Regions from separate parts of the Homo sapiens genome. Here region 2 is linked to region 1. Evidence: promoter capture Hi-C in 16 types of primary human blood cells and fetal thymus (Javierre and others, 2016). All regions are on one chromosome and are shown on one strand. The core of a region is centred on a gene start or on the middle of the fragment in contact, and the rest is flanking DNA. Distances in the headings are between cores, read along the strand shown.

Region 1 (3,181 bases), core at 349-2,848:
GATACTCAATACATGTTGACTGCCTTTCTTCCAACGGATGAATAACTTGAAAGTCACACAGCTAGTGAGGACTAGAACCAAGAATTGGGATCCCCTTCACCACTCAAACAGAATTCAACTATTTCTTAAATGGCCTCTGTTCATCTTCAATCATATCATAAAATAGAGCTTTTTAACACCTGAGTTGGGAGGGGTAGTTATTAAAGTAAATGTGGAACACCACAGGGCTGCAAAAGAGTCAGGAAGTTTAATCAAGGAAATGTTGTATTGGCTACCTTTCTAAAAATGACATCTGCTTAGTTTGTACCTGAAGGCTTGACCTTCCGGAAACAATGCAACAAATGAAGTTGGTTATTTTTAATGGATATTTCACAACTAGTATTTCAAGATTGTTTGCAGCAAATAGGTATCAAGTGTCTAACATGTGCAGGGCCCTGTGGATGACAGAAGTATGAATCTGACTTTGGCCCTGTCTTCTCTTGTAGAGAAAAGAGGCAGACCTTGAGGAGTGATAAAAACCAACCAACCAATAATTGCATGGTAGGTGTGATGGAACTTAAAAAGTTCAAGGCTAGCCTGACATGGGGGGTCACTTAACGCTACTCTACTTGGGGATGAAATGCCCACTGCATCAGGAGTTGGTAAACACAGCAGAGCATAGTAGAAACTATTCAAATTGTGTTAACTGAATTCTAGTATTGTTTCTGAAAGGAGCTAGCTTTGTGAACTTGTCAAGTTACTTGACATCTTTAGGTTATGTTTCTCATCTGTAAAATAAGTGAGTTCAAAGGATGATCTCTATTTAAGCCTCCTTCCAGTTCTACTATTCCAAATTCCATGATAATGATGATGACCACAAGAAATACAGTAACTTATATTTACCACACATTATATGTCAAGCACTATGCTAAAGTGCATTACTGTACTAACTTCACTTAATCTTCACAACTTTACGAAATGGACATTATTGTTATCATTATTTTACAGATGAGGAAAAGGAGGCTAAACAGTATCAGAATACTGGAGTCGTGATTTGAATGGAGGGAGTCTGAAGCAGCAACCCCTGCTTCTGACCTCAGTCTGAATTGAAAGCAGTTCATGGGTCACCCTTAACCATCATACAAAGTTGCCTCTCTTCACAAAAACTGTCTTATCCATTCTCAAGAAATAAGGAAAAGAGAAAGCTTGTGGAAAGGATCCTTCCTGGCTGGCAGACAGATCTGAGTTAATGTCACAGCTGTCTGTTTCACGTGTTAAAGAATCTCTTGCACCATTTTCCCCGAGATGCTTGCGCGCTCCCAAGGCGGTGCACACCCCTGCTGGGCAAACACCGCGATCGCCAGAAGCGACCAGGGCTGAGGCGCACGGAAGGGCTCCGGGAGAGGCCCCGTAGGAGCGCGGGCACAGAGTGGGTACCTGGGCTGCTGCCTGCTCCAGTCGGCTGGTTCTCCCACCACTCGTCTCCGAGATCGTCTGCCATTTCAGCTCAGGTCTCGACGTGGGCAGAACATCACGGGTAGGCGACCAGCTGCGGAGAATCACGTTGTCTCAAAGCCAGGCGGCCGGCGTAGCTACACGCGGAGCTCCCGCTAGACACTGTCGCCTCCGCCCCGCGGCGATGACGTCACACCTCTGCCCCGCCTCTCCGGCAGCCGCTCCCAGACTCGTCGCAGTTTCCACACAGGCGCCGACAGGCAGAAGCAGTTTGGAAACGCAACATAAATCCCCCCAAAGCTTAAAGACAAAAAGGAACATAAGACGAAAGGGATTGTCATCGTTTTTGATAATGCATTTTAAAAAATTTTGTTTACGTGTTACGTTTCCCGATAAGATTGTGTCGAAAGTGTGAGACACCATGTGAAGACGATTTTTCTCCGCTCAGTTTCAAAGAACTTGCGCAGCGGGAGAAGACCCAAACATGTGCGTGTGTTTTCGCTTGTGCGTCAGTGTTTCAGAGTTTATGTGTTTGTACAGTTTGCTCTTAGAAAACATGCGCAAGGATCCATGACCATGAATGTCGGGCCTTTGTGGTAAATGTAGTTCTGCTATTTATGCAATATGAGTAAAGAAAATGTAATTGGCCTGGAAAGGCTCGCCCACAGAAAGACGCAAGTGGCTCGAAGACCCGCAAGTTGTTTTCCTCATACTCCCTCGGTTGTGTGTCCCACCCCCTATTTGGGAAACGAAGTAATAAGGGAGTCCATTGCTTCGTAACTATAGGTAAGAGACCCGCAGTGCCTCTTGTCTCAGTCCCAACGTGATTTGGCAGGGAGGGACTAGGAAAACCCGCTGGGCGCCAAGTGCTGGGGCTAGCTGTGAAGTAATTGTGGACGGTATTTTTCAGGACATCAAACACAGACGTAAAAATTATACAAAATGTAGTAAAAGCACGCAACGTGCCTGGTACTATGCATGGAATAGTAAGATGAGTCCATTCAGATGTTAGCCTACAGTAGTGGAAATTCAATTTGTAGGAATAAAGGGCTAGACTTCTAATAGGATACATCCTCGGAAATGACAAGACAGGGAAACTTAATCTGATGAGGCTAGGATTAGCCATATGTGGAAAATTACCCCGTGTGCACCCAACTCATAGATGTTTTATAAATGCATTACTGCCTAGACTTTGTCCGCACACTCTAAATGCCCCAAAAGGGAAGATATTATGTATAAATATGGCAAATGTAAAATAATCTATAAAGATCAAAAGTAATATGGCTTTTGTGAAGAAATGTAGATGACGAGATTTTCGTGATTAATAGATTTTTGAAAAAGATAAGAAATGCCAGTGTGGAAGAGGAGTTGCTATGGCTAATAAACATGAAAAGAATTCAGTCTGATTATTAATCTGGGAAATACAAAAAAAACACCACAGCGAGACCGTTTTTCAGGCAATAAATCACAAAATTAAGAAGTATGGGCCGGGCGCGGTGGCTCAAGCCTGTAATCCCAACGCTTTGGGAGGCCGAGGTGGGTGAATCACCTGAGGTCAAGAATTCCAGACCAGCCTGGCCAAAATGGCGAAACCCATCTCTACTAAAAATACAAAAATTAGCCGGGCATGGTGGCAGGCGCCTGTAATTCCAGCTACTTGAGAGTCTGAGGTAGGCGAATTGCTTAAACCCGGGAAGTGGAGGTTGCGGTGAGCCGAGATGGTGCCATTACACTCCAGCCTGGTTGA
Region 2 (3,181 bases), core at 342-2,841, 700 kb after region 1:
CCCGAAATTCAATTGGGCAACATGTGGAATTGAATTTATTAAATAACTGTGGTATTGCTACAAGCATAATGAAATGACAGTAAGCCAGCTGGGAATACCAGGAAAATGAGTTACTCAATTCAAACCCATTCAGATCACCCTAAAAAGTGATGGTTAGCCATGCCAGTTTAAACATAGAAAGCACTCAGAATATTTGTGGTTAATTAGAAATTTCAGGATAGTGACAGCATTTCAAGAATCTCCCAATTGTTTGGTCACAGTTTTGTGGGCTCAAACCCAAGACACTACTACAGGAGAATATTGGAGTGCAGATGTCCATCCTCCACCTCTTCAGTTCTTAAGATTGATTTCCCCTGAAACTGCAGAACCAGTGTGGTCCTCTCCTAATATTCATTCCTTCTCCCCTCCAATTTGATTAAGTAAATCAAATTGGGCTATAGAACGCTGATCTCCAAGTAAGGTGGATTAAATCTGATTAGTGTAGCATAACCAACTCTTCTGAAGTGATAGGTCCAGAATAGGCTCTCAATTTTATAGGAATATTTAATTCAGATTTTCCTTGCCGGGAGAAAAAGAGAACATGAACATCCCCTCAAAACTCTTTCCAGGAATGTTATAAAATATTGTACTATCCAACTCTTTAATCAAATGATAGTAGCATTCAAAACATCCTGTACTTCAACATTTTTGTCTAGATCTTTGCCTATGTTACCCAAATGACACCCTTTTTACAAATTCAGTGCAGTGTAGGGGACCACTCTATAGAGCCAGGACACAGACTTTCCATCCAAAAGCCACAACTGTGGGGGGTAGGGGGGTGGGGGGTCATGAAGACATTTCTGACCAGAACTACTAAGTGCTGACCTAATAGCCTTTTTCCCCACCTTCCTCACAAACAGAAGCTTGATTGTATGCCTGGCAATGTATCCAGCTTACACAGTACATTTTCCAGGTTTCCTTGAAGCCAGGGGTGAACAAGGTACTTAAGTGAATATCTGAGAAATTTTGAAGGAGCACTGACTCAGTTAAGAGAGGGAACTTCTCACCCTTTTTCCTTCTCCTCCTTCTTCCTTCCTATTGCCCAAAACTCAGATGTAATCACCGATACTCCAGCAGCCATTTTAGACCAGAAGGAGATCTTGAAGTTAAAACTAATGTTTTAGCTCAGGCTGCCTTAATAAAATGCCACAGACAGGGTGGCTTAAACAACAGATATTTATTTTCTCACAGTCCTGGAGGCTCAAAGTCTGAGATCAGGTGTCAGCATGGTTGGTTTCTGGTGAGGCATCTCTTCCTGGCTTGTAGGCATCTGCTACCACACTGTTTGCCCATGTCTTTTTCTTTGTGAACTCAAGAATTCAGGGCAGAGATGGGTAAGAGAGGGTTTTCTGATGCCTCTCTTCTGATAAAAACAATAAACTAATCTTAGCATATCAGGGCCTATCTTGGTCAGTTTGAGCTATTATAACAAGATACCATAGAGTAGATGGTTTAAACAACATAAAATTATTTCTCACAGTTCTGGAGGCTGGAAGTTCAGGAGCAAGATACTGGCAGATCCAATGTCTGTTTAGGGCCCTCTTCCTGGTTTCCTAACGAGAGTAGGGGAAGCAAACTCTTTCCTGTCTCTTTGTATAAAGGCATTAAACCCATTCACATAGGGTTCTACTCTCATAACTAATTACCTCCCAAAGGTCCTGTCTCTAAATATTATCACATTAAGAATTAGACTTTCAACATACAAATGGGGTAGTGGGGACAGACATTTAGTTCATGGCATGACCTCACCCTTATGACCTAATTTAACTGCCTCCACAAAGTTTCTATCTCCAGATATAGTCACATCGGGGGGTTAGGACTCTGAGCACATAATTCAGTCTACAGAAGATGGGTAGCAGAGTTTCTCTTGTGACACTGATGCCAACATTGAGCCAATATACAGCCTTAGATTGCCTGTCTCTAAATATCCTTTATATGAGGAAAAAGAAAAATTCTTCTATCTTGCTGAGTCATAGAGTTTCTATAGATTCAAACCTAATCCTATATAATACAATATATATTCATTTATTCATTCAACAAAAATATTTGAGAATGTACTATGTCTTGGATACCATGCTGAGTACTAAGAACTGAGAATAACAAGACAAATCAGATTGATCCCTTGGCTCTAATGAGCTCATGGTTTTATGAAGGAGACAAACATGAATAGGTAATTCACATTTTTAGTGTTCTATAATGATCAGAAAGAAAAAGTGAACAAAGTTCTCAAATAAAGCTTAGCCTGAAAGTTTGGGAAAACCTACTCAAAAGTAGGATTTGAACCTATTCTTGAAGGATGCATGGAATTTCAGCAATTTGGAGGTTGAGTGTTCTCGACATAGAAAACAGTAAAAGCCAAGGAATGGAGGCATGGAAGAGTAAGGAATGTTCATTGGAGAGTGGGAATGTTTCTGTAATTAGCGAAAGATGATGGGGGTGGGAGAGGTACCTAACAAAGAAGCTGGAAAAGTAACTGGTGGCAATTGCCTTATTATACCATATTTAGATTTTGGGGATTTACTCTATGGTGATAAAACACATTGTAGATTTTCTACGCAGTGATGTTAAGGAGCAATATTATTAGATTTACATTTTAAGAAGATGATTATGCAGGTAGACTGGGATCAGGGAGACTGGGTAGAGGATGATTATAATAATACTGATGGGATATGATGAGGATATAAACAAGGCTAAGGGACAATAGTTAACTCATTCATTTCAGTTCTAACCTACCTTGTCAAATGAGTTGCTAATCATCTTCAGATTAGCTTGCACGGGCCAGTAGACTCCAACCCAGAAATGTAGCATAAGTTCTTACCGCATTAAATAGCAGCTCTTGAAAAATGGTCTCAGCTGCTATCATTTAAGTGTCATTAAGTGCATGTAGAAAGAGGACATCACTAAGATGGTAAAATAGAAGGTAACCCACTTATATCCCACCACCACAACAAGAATTTGTACCCATCCACAGTCAAAAGTTTCTCTGAGGAGCCTCAGGATTGATGTGGGAGTTTGTGAAGCCCCATTGGAGCCCAAGGCCAGACCTTGAAGGGTCATTTTGAGAGTGTAGACCAACACCCAGGTGTCTAATCCACTGAATCTGTTCCTGAGTTCCAGCTCAAAAACAGCCCAGTCTTCTAAG

The links. The method cuts DNA at HindIII sites, captures the fragments that hold promoters and counts their contacts. A CHiCAGO score of 5 or more calls a contact.
Region 2: a fragment that was not itself captured here is called in contact with the fragment with the promoter of CMSS1 in region 1 in 1 of 17 cell types (endothelial precursors); the score reaches 6.0 in endothelial precursors.

The regions. Positions count from the first base shown.
Region 1 is chr3:99,816,279-99,819,459 of GRCh38, reverse strand. It overlaps CMSS1 (cms1 ribosomal small subunit homolog), which reads right to left and starts at 1,598. Exons shown (of 10, transcript NM_032359.4): 1 at 1,417-1,598. The coding sequence starts at 1,480. It overlaps HP09053 (a long non-coding RNA gene), which reads left to right. Exons shown (of 3, transcript NR_110821.1): 2 at 486-540; 3 at 988-2,828. LOC105374010 (a long non-coding RNA gene) reads right to left here and starts at 1,598. Exons shown (of 5, transcript NR_189163.1): 1 at 1,417-1,598. RefSeq lists enhancers at 1,332-1,641, 873-1,747 and a silencer at 1,163-1,917. The HindIII fragment of the contact is 550 bases long and covers 1,187-1,736 here.
Region 2 is chr3:99,115,558-99,118,738 of GRCh38, reverse strand. No RefSeq gene overlaps it. Among named protein-coding and RNA genes, the nearest start is that of LINC00973, 200 kb to the right of the region's middle. The HindIII fragment of the contact is 1,373 bases long and covers 905-2,277 here.